3 separate regions of the Homo sapiens genome follow, and regions 1 and 2 are each linked to region 3. Evidence: promoter capture Hi-C in 16 types of primary human blood cells and fetal thymus (Javierre and others, 2016). All regions are on one chromosome and are shown on one strand. Each heading gives the region's core, a stretch centred on a gene start or on the middle of the fragment in contact. The rest is flanking DNA. Distances are from core to core; before and after follow the strand shown.

Region 1 (3,884 bases), core at 937-3,436, 160 kb before region 3:
AGTTCAGAGGTGGAGCTCCTCCCGACGGCAGTGGGCGCCCATGGGTGTGTGCTGCTTTAGTGGAGTGGAGAGGAACGCCCTTGGAGATAAGCAGGCTCAGTGGAACAAAGCTGCGGTATCGGACAGACTTCACCTCCACGCACTCAGAAAAGGCACTAGGACGATGGGGACCTAGGGGCTGGAAGCCACTCCCACAGGAGCCCAGGTGCTCAGTCAGCGCAGGGAAGGAAGACCAGGGATGCCTGCGGCAGAGGGGAGAAAACGGGGAGCCCGAGTGCCCGGAGCCTCCGTGGAGGCGTGTGTCTATATCGCGACGGAGAAAACGCGTCCCCAAGAGGCAATGAAAGTTAAAATGACATTGGCCCTGCCCCTCAGACACACATAATAGGATCCTGGGTGCAGGAGAGCCAGGGTCAGCGAGAGGAGCCAAGGAAGACATTCCCAGTGGCTGAACAGACCCCCAACGGGAGGCCAGCGCAGTGCTGAAGACCTGTCTTGTGGGAGGGGTGGACTTGGGGCCTCACCAGCCTCAAGGGATTAAGGCTTCTTTCTGTGTTTCGGGGGTGGGGGCACTGAAGCCAGATGCCACTTGCTGCCCAAAGCTCAGGGTTCCAGACAGACCCCAAAGAAAGGCTTGTGTGGACTGGACAGCCTCTCCCTGGGTGGAGGTGGGTGTCAGGTGGTGTTCCTGGCGGTCTGTGGCGGGATTCCCGCCAGGGGCCGTTTCTCCTGAAGAGGGAAACAGATCTTATCTTCACATCTTCCCCCCATACACCCTCCGCTCCCCCACCCTTTTTTTTTTTTTTTTTAATACAGGCGGGGTCTCCCCATGTTGCCCAGGCTGGTCTTGAACTCCTGGGCTGGGCTCAAGTGATCCTCCTGCCTCAGCCTCGCAAAATGCTGGGATTACAGGCATTGAGCCACCACACCCAGTCTACGTTTTTGAGAAGGATTGTTCCATAACTGAAGACTGGCTGGGTCAGGGGGAAATTAGCCTGCGGGTGGGGCTGGATCATGCTGATATTGGCCATCGGCGGAGGAAGCTATACTTCTTTCTCCTCAGGCCAGCACTAACCCTGGCCCTGACTCCTAGGACCCCATCCTCATCCGCCCTCCCTTCCCTGGAGGAAAGCTCCCTTTAATATAAGACTTTAGCTTCCTTGATACTCACTTGAGAAGCCAGGAAGATGTGAGGCATGCGGAAAAGCGCAGAGTTAAAAAACAAAACCTTACAATATTTACCAGGTACTTTCCCTACACACACATCCATCTGGCGTGTGTTAGGGATGACAGGTTGGCCTGCGTTTGGAGAAAGGTAAACAGCTCAAGGTCCTAGGCACCCAGCCAAAGTCCATACGATATGCCGCTCAGTACCACCCACTGCCCCGTCTTCATCTTCAGCTGAAACTCAGATCCCGGGAGGTCTGCAAATGGATGAGGTGCTATCCCACACCAGTCAGATTCCAATTTGTCCAAGATATCCCAGATCTACCCACTCAATTACATTTAAGAGACAGTTTCTGTCTTTACTTTCACCACCAGTCTTGGTTAAACATCAGAAAAGAGACAAATTACACACTTCTCAGAAATTGAAATTTTATAAAAAGGCATTTTTCTCTTATATCCATAAAATGATATAATTTTTGCAAGTATAGAAATGTGTCATAAATTATAATGTTCCTTAATTACAGCTCAATGCAACTTGGTACTTTCTTCCCTCCCTAAAAAACGAGAGAGAACCAAAAAATAATATATATATATATAACTGTATATATATATTTATATAATATAGACAAACAAAATATGAAAAAAAATCATTTCCTCTTTGGTATAAAAATCAGACTCTCACCTTGAGAGACACACAGACAGACATGATACTGGGTTTGTAAACTGTGTGGCCAAAAGGGATTTCCCTGCCAAGACTTCCCCTCTCCCATTCCCTGCCCACCCGCCCCCACCTCACTGCAGCCCATCCAGTTCCTTTGGGGCTCCCATATGGAACATTTAAAATCCCCCTACCCACTCCCAGCTCCAAACCATTCCTGAAGAATCCCCCGACCCACTATCAAAGAAGAGGAAAGGATTCTTCTCAAGGCTGATTAGGTAGCGACTAACTTGGGAAATGCCTTATTTAGGGAATAGCTTCATAGGTGTGGATGAAGTAAAGGACAGGCTGTGGCCAAACTCTGACAGTGTCCCATCCAGACCAAGCCAGGCACTGGCCTGGGCCTGGTTTTGCCCTTATCCTCCTCTACTACCCGGCACAAGGATTCCACCACCTCTTGCCAGAGGCTGGGCCTGAGGGGCGGGGCTCCTTGCTTACTGAAGAAGGGAGCAGAGAGGCCAATTCCCGTTCCAGCCTCATCTCAGGTGCACAGCTTCCCCCTGCAGCCCCACCACAGGGCCCTGGGGTGTAGATGCAAGAAAGCACCAGATGGGGAGGCAAAGGGAGGTCAAAAGGGAGTCTGCCAATAAACTTGGGTTTAAATTTAAAATTAAAGAAAACTACGCCTCCCTGAGCTGGGTGTGGTGGCTCACGCCTGTAATCTCAGCACTTTGGGAGGTTGAGGTGGGCAGGTCAGGAGGTCAGGAATTCAAGACTAGCCTGGCCAACATGGTGAAACATCTCTACTAAAAATACAAAAATTAACCAAGCGTGGTGGTGTGTGCCTGTAATCCCAGCTACTCAGGAGGCTGAGGCAGGAGAATCGCTTGAACCCAGGAGGTGGAGGTTGCAGTGAGCTGAGATTGTGCCATTGCACTCTTGCCTAGGTGACAAGAGTGAGACTCCATCTCAAAAAAAAAAAGAAAAAAAGAAAAAGAAAAAAGAAAAGAAAACTACCCCTCCCCACTGACCAAATTTCAGACCCAGCTTTAGCTCACTAAGGATTTGGGGGCCACTTTCCTAGGCTCCAGCCCAAGGCCAGCAGGACTAAGGAATCCAGGAATTGATATGTGTGTGTGTTGGGGGCAGAGGGCAGCACTTTACTCTCAAGGTGAGGAAGCAGACAGGACCAAACCCTCCTTTACACTCTCCCACTACCCTCTGCTCATGGGTACCTCCCTCCCTGGTCAGCTCCTCTGCCCCACAGAGCACTGGTCACTGCAGGCAGAGCCGACATGGATCCTCCCAAACCACCCCACAGCCGGCCAGGCTGCGGCATCCCAGTGTGTGCCAGCCTCCTTTTCCCAGGAGAGTTAAGACACCAACCACAACATAAAAGTCACATAAAAGCCTCCTCCACTTGCCAAATAAAAAAAGACAAAACCAAACTGGACACAACACAAATCAAGGAGAGACATACACGATGTGAGGGGCCGAGGCCCCTGCAGGTCTCTGGCTTCCCGGCATGGTACATTCTTATGTAATTCAGGAACAGAGGCACTAGGGCCCCTCTGGGGAGTAGGAGTAAAAAAATAAGGAGATTATAGTCTCCCTGTGGGTCCCAGGCAGGGCAGGGGCAGACACAATCTCTCACAGTTTTTTCTTGTTTTTGGTTCCACTTCTGGTCCCCGAGTGGGGCTGGCTCCCCGTGCCTCAGCCTCTGCTCTGCCCTTGGGCCTGCTCCCTCTAGCTCCCCAGCTGGTGGAAGGGCCTACAGCTGGGAACAGATGTCCCAGCCATGTGTGGTGGGACCAGCAGGACAGAGTCTACCGGGGGGACGGGAAGCAAGGAATGAGGACCAGCAGTTCCGAGACGCTGTTCCCTCAGTGACTGGCCAGCCCTGGGTGCTCTGGTCACTGGCACAGGGCATCCATCCTCGGCCTTCAGCCCTTGAGGGGCTTGTCGGCACCGCCACTGGGGCTACTGGCACTGTCACTCTTCTTCCTGCGCAGGCTCTCAATCCAGCTGGAGCTGGAGCGGGTGGTGAAGCTGGAGAGCG
Region 2 (4,013 bases), core at 1,088-3,587, 160 kb after region 3:
CACTTTAGGAGACTGAGGCAGGAGGATCACTTGAGCCCAGGAGTTTGAGACCAGCCTGGGCAACGTAGGGAGACCCTGTTTTTAGAAAAAAGAATTTTTTTTAAATTAGCTGGACTAATTGGCACATGGTGGCACATGCTTGTGGTCCCGGCTACTTGAGAGGCTGAGGTGGGAGGATTGCTTGAGCTCAGGAGGTCAAGGCCACAGGAAGCCATGATTTCACCACTGCACTCCAGCCTTGGCAACAGGACAAGACCCTGTCTCAAAAAAAAACCAAAAAAGGTTTCAACTTAAAGTGTGCTTGAGGTGATGCATACCCCACTTACCCTGATGTGATTATTACAGGTTCTATGCCTGTATCAAAGTATCTCATGTACCCCATAAATATGTATACCTACAACGTAGCCACAAAGATTAAAAATAAAAACAAAAAATTAACTGTAATCCCAGCACTTTGAGAGGCTGAGGTGGGCAGATCGCTTGAGGCCACGAGTTCAAGACCAGCCTGAGCAACATGGCGAAACCCCATGTCTACAAAAAAGACAAAAATTAGCTGAGTGTGGTGGTGTGCCCCTGTAGTCCCAGCTACTAGGGAGAGTGAGGTGGGAGGATCACTGGAGCCCGGGAGGTCGAGGCTGCAGTGAGCTGAGATTGTTCCACTGCACTCCAGGCTGAGTGAATTTTTAATTTTAATTTTTTCATAAGTTATTGGGGTACAGGTGGTATTTGGTTACATGAGTAAGCCCTTTAGTGGTGATTTGTGAGATTTTGGTGCACCCATCACCCAAGCAGTATACACTGCTCCCTATTTGTAGTCTTCTATCCCTCGCCCCCTCCCACCCTTTCCTGACTTTTTATTTTTAATTTAAAAAAAAATTTAATATTAAAAAAGTGAAAAAAAAAGGAAGGACACCATGTTTATTGATGAATATTTCTTAATCTATCCCTTCACTGTCTAGGTTTTTCTACAGCTCCCAGTAGAGCATAACTTTGCCATGGTTGTCCATACAAAAGCAGCAGGCAGGACCAGTATCAAGGTCACTGTTCACTGCATGAACAGTTCCTCTGGGCAGTTTGAGGGGAATTTGTTGGAACTCTCTGATGAAGTACAGATCCTGGTAAGCTTCCAAATCTAAATCTTATTTTCGTATATTAAGGATAAGAAAGTTATATTCTCTTACCATCAACAAAGAGCTTAGTCTGGATAGAGACAGATAATTGTTAGAGCGATTCCTGGAACAGGTTTGTACTTCCTAGATCTTTATAATTCCTGCTAATTGCTTGTATATAGTTTTGTTTTTTGTTTTTGTTTTGTTTTGTTTTGAGACGGAGTTTCGCTCTTGTTGCCAAGGCTGGAGTGCAATGGCACAATCTCGGCTCACCACAACCTCCATCTCCTGCGTTCAAGTAATTCTCCTGCCTCAGCCTCCCGAGTAGCATGTGCCACCAAGCCCAGCTAATTTTGTAATTTTAGTAGAGACGGGGTTTCTCCATGTTGGTCAGGCTGGTCTGAAACTCCTGACCTCAAGTGATCCTCCTGCCTCGGCCTCCCAAAGTGCTGGGATTACAGGCGTGAGCCACTGTGCCTGGCCTGTTTTTTGTTTTTTTGTGGTTTTTTTTTTTTTTTTTTTTTTTTTTGAGACAGTCTTGCTCTGTTGCCCAGGCTGGAGTGCAGTGGTGTGATCTTGGCTCACTGCAAGCTCCTCCTCCCAGGTTCACACCATTCTCCTGCCTCATTCTCCCAAGTAGCTGGGACTACAGGTGCCTGCCACCATGCCCGGCTAATTTTTTGTATTTTTAGTAGAGACAGGGTTTCACTGTGTTAGCCAGGATGGTCTCGATCTCCTGACCTCGTGATCTGCCCGCCTCAGCCTCCCAAAGTGCTGGGATTACAGGTGTGAGCCACCATGCCTGGCTTGTTTTTTGTTTTTGAGACAGAGTCTCACTCTGTCACCCAGGCTGGAGTGCAGTGGCACAATCTCCACTCACTGCAGCGTTCAGGTAATTCTCCCTGCCTCAGCCTCCCGAGTAGCTGGGATTACAGGCGTGCACCACCATGCCCGGCTAATTTTTGTATTTTTAGTAGAGACGGGGTTTCGCCACGTTGTCCAGGCTGGTCTCAAACTCCTAACCTCAAGTGATCCACCCGCCTTGGCCTCCCAAAGTGCTAGGATTACAGACGTGAGCTACCACGCCCGGCTGCTTTTATATACTATTAACATTAGAAACTATTAGTACTTGCAGGTGAGTAGTCTGGAAAAAAAAAGAAAAGAAACTGTAGCACACACACTCCCTTCAACTCCCCATATCAGGAACACAGGATATGAACACCATAGTAACTAGAGAGGGATTCATTTCTGATCCACTCCACCTGACATAGATATTATAAGTCCATTAACAATTTTTATTTAATTATTTATTTATTTTGAGACAGAGTTTCACTCTGTTGCTTAGGCTGGAGTGCAGTAGCATGATCTCGCCTCACTGCAACCTCCACCTCCCAAGTACAAGTGATTCTCCTGCCTCAGCCTCCTGAGTACCTGAGATTACAGGCATGCGCCACCATGCCTGGCTACTTTTTGTATTTTTAGTAGAGATGGAGTTTCGTTATGTTGACCAGGCTGGTCTCAAACTCCTAACCTCAGGTAATCTGCCCGTCTTGGTCTCCCAAAGTGCTGGGATTACAGGTATGAGCCACCGCGTCCAGCCGATATAAGTCCATTTAAATATATTCACAGTTAGGATAAAACATAATTCTAACTTTTGATAAGGTGTAAGAGTATGAATAGTTTCTACAGATATTCTTGGGCTAAAAGCTAAATGGCTCTGTTGTTTTTAGAATTCAAAAAACAAATTATCACTTATATGGGTCGAGTAAGTTTCACTGCCTCTGATTTTGAGACTTTTTTTTTCTTTTCCTGTTTTATTTTTTCCTTTATTTTGGCTTTGGTTCTCTGATTCCATGTGAAGTAGAGGAAGGAGCACTTTACTAGAAGGTGGAAGACCTGGATGTTATTTCATGCTAATTTAATATTATAAGTTCTTTTCCCCAAACTTCATGTCATTTTACCAGAGCCAAAATTAGAAATTTCAAAGTATTTTTATACCTAATATCTAAGCAATATGGAAGATGTGGTAAGTGTAAACTTTGCTACATGCTGAGTCCCTCAGAGTCAGAAACAGGGCTAACATTAGGTTATATCTTCTAGAATATCTAGTTACGTTTTGAGTGCCTGGTTCATTTTGGAGAGGAGTATTGTGGACGATTTTAGACTAATTAGAAGTTAGGCAGACTGTTGATTCGTAGTTGTCATTTATTTGCATGTAATCTCTTCGGGATTATACTGAAGTCTATATGTAAGTAAAAGTCATAATTTGTCTTTGCCAAAAATGAGGAAAACATTTTCTCATTATAGGTGTTTGAAAAACTCCAACTCTTCTATCCAGAGTGCCAACCAGAGCAGATTCTGATGCCTATAAATTCTCAGCTCAAACTCCATACCAACAGGTAAGGAAAAGGGAGAATAAGGAAGTGCCAGGATCTAAGCTTAAGTATTTTCAGTAAAACATTGACATAGAAAGAACACTTTTGCCTTCTAGGAGATTTTTCCCAAATAATTTTTTGTGTGAGGTGAAATTCCCATAATGTAAAACTATTGTAAAGTGTAAAATTCAGTGGCATTTAGTACATTCACAATATTGTGTATTCAGCATCTCTATCTAGTTCCAAATATTTTTATCACCACCAAAGGAGATCCCATACCTGTGAAGCAGTCACTCTTCTTTCTTTCCTCCTCGCAGCCCCTGGCAATCACTAATCTGCTTTCTGTGTACGGTATTAGCTATCCTGAATGTATTTCATATAAATGGAATCATACAGTATGCAACGTTTTGTGTTTTTTGTTTTTTTTTTTTTGTTTTTTTTTTTTTTTTGAGACAGTCTCGCTCTGTTGCCCAGGCCAGCGCACAGTGGCACAATCTCAGCTCACTGCAACCTCCACCTCCCAGGTTCA
Region 3 (3,610 bases), core at 958-3,457:
AGCCAAGCATCTGCAGCACTTAAGAGCAGGACGGTGCCAGGATGGTGCCTCCTGAACGGACCTCAGTAGTCTTGTGGGGGTGATCTGGGAAGGTTAGGAGTTCTGTTGGAAAGGTAAAGCAGGGTGTACAAGTCCTCTGCCCCCACCCCGGAAAGCCTCAGGGCAGCTGGAATGGCATTGAAGAGAGCAGGTGGCAATTTTGATGAGGAGCTGCTGACACGGCTGATCCTCTGGGCGCTGGGGCCGTGACATCAGGGTGAGAAGCTCTGTGTGGGAGCTCTAGGGAACGATAGTTGCCCGGATGTGGAGCCCTGCCAGGTATTCTTCCTGGTTTAGGCCAACGTGATCCAGCAAAGGCCAGGAGCTTGTAGAGGAGGAGCTGAGGCAGGGATGACACGTAGGACAATAAGCAAGAGCTGGCTGTCTTGGGAGGTGAAGAGCAGGAGCCAGTACCCTTCCTCAAGGAGATGGCTCTCCACCTAGACATGATTGGTGCCTGGTGTCTGCTCTATTCTTTCTTTGCAACTGGAAGGAAGGCAGATGACCCCCAAAGCTCTCCTGCCTGCTTCTGTGTGATATGTTTGATATTGGGTTGTTTAATTAGGAACCAACTAAATGTCAAACATATTCTTACAGCAGCAGGTGATTCAGCACCACCCTCTTTCATACTTCAATCTCTGGGGCTCCTGTCTCTTTTACTGAACCTCTTCTCTCCAGGACCCCCCCAAAAGTCCAGTAGCTGCAACCTATGTGCATTTCAATCTTAACCTAAGAGGGCTGGTGTGGGAATGGGAGAGAGTTGGAATTTGAGGATAGAATCTTTCTATTTCTTGTCCCCTTATACTAGAAGGGACATTTCTTTGCCTTTTCTTGTCCTCGTATTTTTCTCCCCCTTATTCACTTGCCCACCCCCCCCCCATTTTCCACTCCTTCCTCTCCCTGTTCCCTAACCCCTTTCCCTGGCTAATCTCCAGAGAAAGGAGACTTGGTTTCTCCTCTCTCTGTCGAGAGTCAGCTGATGGTCTATCTGCCTATCTACCTCTAGTGACTGGAAGCTCTCAATAGTGGACTCCAGCTCTGCTCTACCCACTGGCCTGGTGGGTGTCTCCGTTCCCCCATTGCTGGGGCTTAGCATTAACTCTCAGTATCCTGACATAAATGACTAACTAGAGCCATTTATATTTGTCCAATATATCTGGTCACCTTGAACAGTGCCCACCTCTCCCTTGGCATATTTTCAGGTGTATGGTGCCAGTGGACTGGTATCCTTGCCACCTGTTAGTAACAAGGCTCCCAATGGAAGAATAAACATGGTCTGGAACTAAACTGGAAAGAATAGAGCTGATAATGATGATTACGATGATGTGGTGAGTGGCAGCGTTGGGGAGAATTAAGAAGGGAGAAGATAAAGGGAAGAAGAGGAGAGAGCCACACAGACCAAAGTCTGTGTGGGTACAACAGTTCTATTTTAAGATTACTGTGGGAAAACAAAGGGTATGATCCTGTCTGGATTGTTCTGACCCTCCCCTGTTTCTCTCCCCACCCCACTTGAAGCTCTGGGATAGCCTTCAAGGATAGGGTTGGAGATTCCAACCCTACCTCTTACTCTACTCTTGTGGCTCTTGGTGGGGAGGAAAAACGTCTCCCTGCCAATCGGAGACTCCCAGAATAGCACAGCAATTTGATCTGGGGATCTGGGAGAATTGTTAAGGATCATGAGTGACCTCCCCTCTTCCCTGTGCCCAAGCTCCTTGAATACCAGGAATCAAAAGCTAAAACTCAACTAACGGAGTTTGACCAGCATTCAACACAGTCTGGGGGAGAGTGAAACGGGAAGCTGAAAGGCAACCAGGACCCCCTGGATGCAAACTGCCAACCTAGAATTGCCAAAGTACACTTCTCTATTTCAATGTTCTTCCCTCCCCTCTTCCTCTTCTTTTAAAACATCCATAGAGCTGCCCAGAATGAGTGGAAAGTTTCAGGGTCAGGGAGAACCTCTTCCCTCCCCCACTTTCCATTGTCTAAAATCAGCCTCAGCTGTTGCTAGATATTTTTTTTGCTGGTGATGTCAGTTCATCAAAGCGTCTCACCCTGTGTTCCCCCAGGAGAACAATGATGGGGTGGAGGGAGCTGGAAAGACCATATTAGGAACAAAAGGTGGAGCTATGAGCACAGATAAAGACTCAAGTCTGGGGACCTCCTGGTCACTCAGGCAGCAGCCCCTTCTTTCTTGCCCCAGTCTCCAGTTCTCCAGTGTTCACAGGTGAGCCTACCAACAGCCACTGCTCATGATGGAGGCCATCAAGAAAAAGATGCAGATGCTGAAGTTAGACAAGGAGAATGCTCTGGATCGGGCAGAGCAAGCTGAAGCTGAGCAGAAGCAGGCAGAAGAAAGAAGTAAACAGGTAGGCACTGGCATTGATCTCTCTCATCTGCTAGTGAACAAGACTGTGAAATGGAAGGGAGTTTTCATGGGAAAGACAGTGACTACTGGTGTCACCTCCTTTTTGGGGGTGGGATGGACTCCCCAGCCTCACTGGAGGAGCAGAGGATATCTAACATATCTGTCTCAGACTGCCTTTGTGACCTTGGGAAAGTCAGTGAGCCACAGTATGTCTGCTGAATTTAAGTAGAAATGGACCATGTTTTGGAAGAACCCTTGACTTCTAGAGGAAAAGGTAAGAGTTCTAGAGGGAAAGAGCATCTCTTTTCACTCAAATAGCATCACGGGCATCTACACTTTAGATATTTATCATCCAGGGGTCTTGGATGAAAACCCAGGATGGCTTGGTCATCTTAGGATCAGAGATTACAGGGTCACAGGCCAAGCTACGGCATAACTCCTGAGGCAGTGGGCTGGAAGTGGCTGGGGAGAAAGTGTGTCTCACTAGGGATGGTAACATGGAGGTTACACTCAGGGCTCCAAGAGCCCAGGGTCCAACCCTGCATTGTTGTGTTTGTGTGTTTTTGTGTGTGACTCTCTGGGCTCCTATAGCTGGAGGATGAGCTGGCAGCCATGCAGAAGAAGCTGAAAGGGACAGAGGATGAGCTGGACAAGTATTCTGAAGCTTTGAAGGATGCCCAGGAGAAGCTGGAACTGGCAGAGAAGAAGGCTGCTGATGTGAGTATTAGAGAGATGGAGGATGGGTTTAATCTACACATATAGATCTTTATGTTAATGTATGACGAAATTCCAAACACACTTGTGGGTTCATGGAACACAGACATATATACTCACATACATTTTTGCATATAACCACATGCTGGTATATTCTCATAATGGCATGTATTTTCTTTCTTAAAGACATCTCCAACATGTTAAAAGTTTTTTTTTAATACATGTAAAGGTCTCATTTATCTCCTATCACCAACCCAGGAATTTAATTATCTTTCCCAGGACCTGGACAAAGAGAGGGGACTCTAAGTTCAGAATGCTGTCACTTATCCTACCTCCTCCCCCATGCCACATTCTTAGCTTTTATGTCCAAGTCTTGGCATGTGGATATGTGTATTAATAGGGAACCTCTCATCTCTCAACTGTCCAACAAAACCAGCTCGGATTTCACAATGGGAAATGGAGGTCACACTGACCCTGGCCATATATGGGTTT

The links. Contacts are between HindIII fragments. The CHiCAGO score rates a contact against its expected background, and 5 or more counts as called.
Region 1: a fragment that was not itself captured here is called in contact with the fragment with the promoter of TPM3 in region 3 in 9 of 17 cell types (megakaryocytes, naive CD8 T cells, total CD8 T cells and 6 more); the score reaches 11.5 in megakaryocytes.
Region 2: a fragment that was not itself captured here is called in contact with the fragment with the promoter of TPM3 in region 3 in 1 of 17 cell types (M2 macrophages); the score reaches 5.2 in M2 macrophages.

What each region holds. Positions count from the first base shown.
Region 1 is chr1:154,349,003-154,352,886 of GRCh38, reverse strand. It overlaps ATP8B2 (ATPase phospholipid transporting 8B2), which reads right to left. Exons shown (of 28, transcript NM_001370597.1): 28 at 1,583-3,884. The coding sequence ends at 3,769. Among named protein-coding and RNA genes, the nearest start is that of ATP8B2, 25 kb to the right of the region's middle. RefSeq lists enhancers at 2,589-3,572, 3,573-3,884. The HindIII fragment of the contact is 6,441 bases long and covers 1-3,884 here.
Region 2 is chr1:154,027,001-154,031,013 of GRCh38, reverse strand. It overlaps NUP210L (nucleoporin 210 like), which reads left to right. Exons shown (of 40, transcript NM_207308.3): 28 at 960-1,118; 29 at 3,417-3,508. Among named protein-coding and RNA genes, the nearest start is that of RPS27, 38 kb to the right of the region's middle. The HindIII fragment of the contact is 2,424 bases long and covers 1,126-3,549 here.
Region 3 is chr1:154,190,697-154,194,306 of GRCh38, reverse strand. It overlaps TPM3 (tropomyosin 3), which reads left to right and starts at 2,207. Exons shown (of 10, transcript NM_152263.4): 1 at 2,207-2,405; 2 at 2,996-3,121. The coding sequence starts at 2,289. MIR190B (microRNA 190b) reads left to right here and starts at 564; the gene lies at 564-642. The HindIII fragment of the contact is 3,875 bases long and covers 1-3,070 here.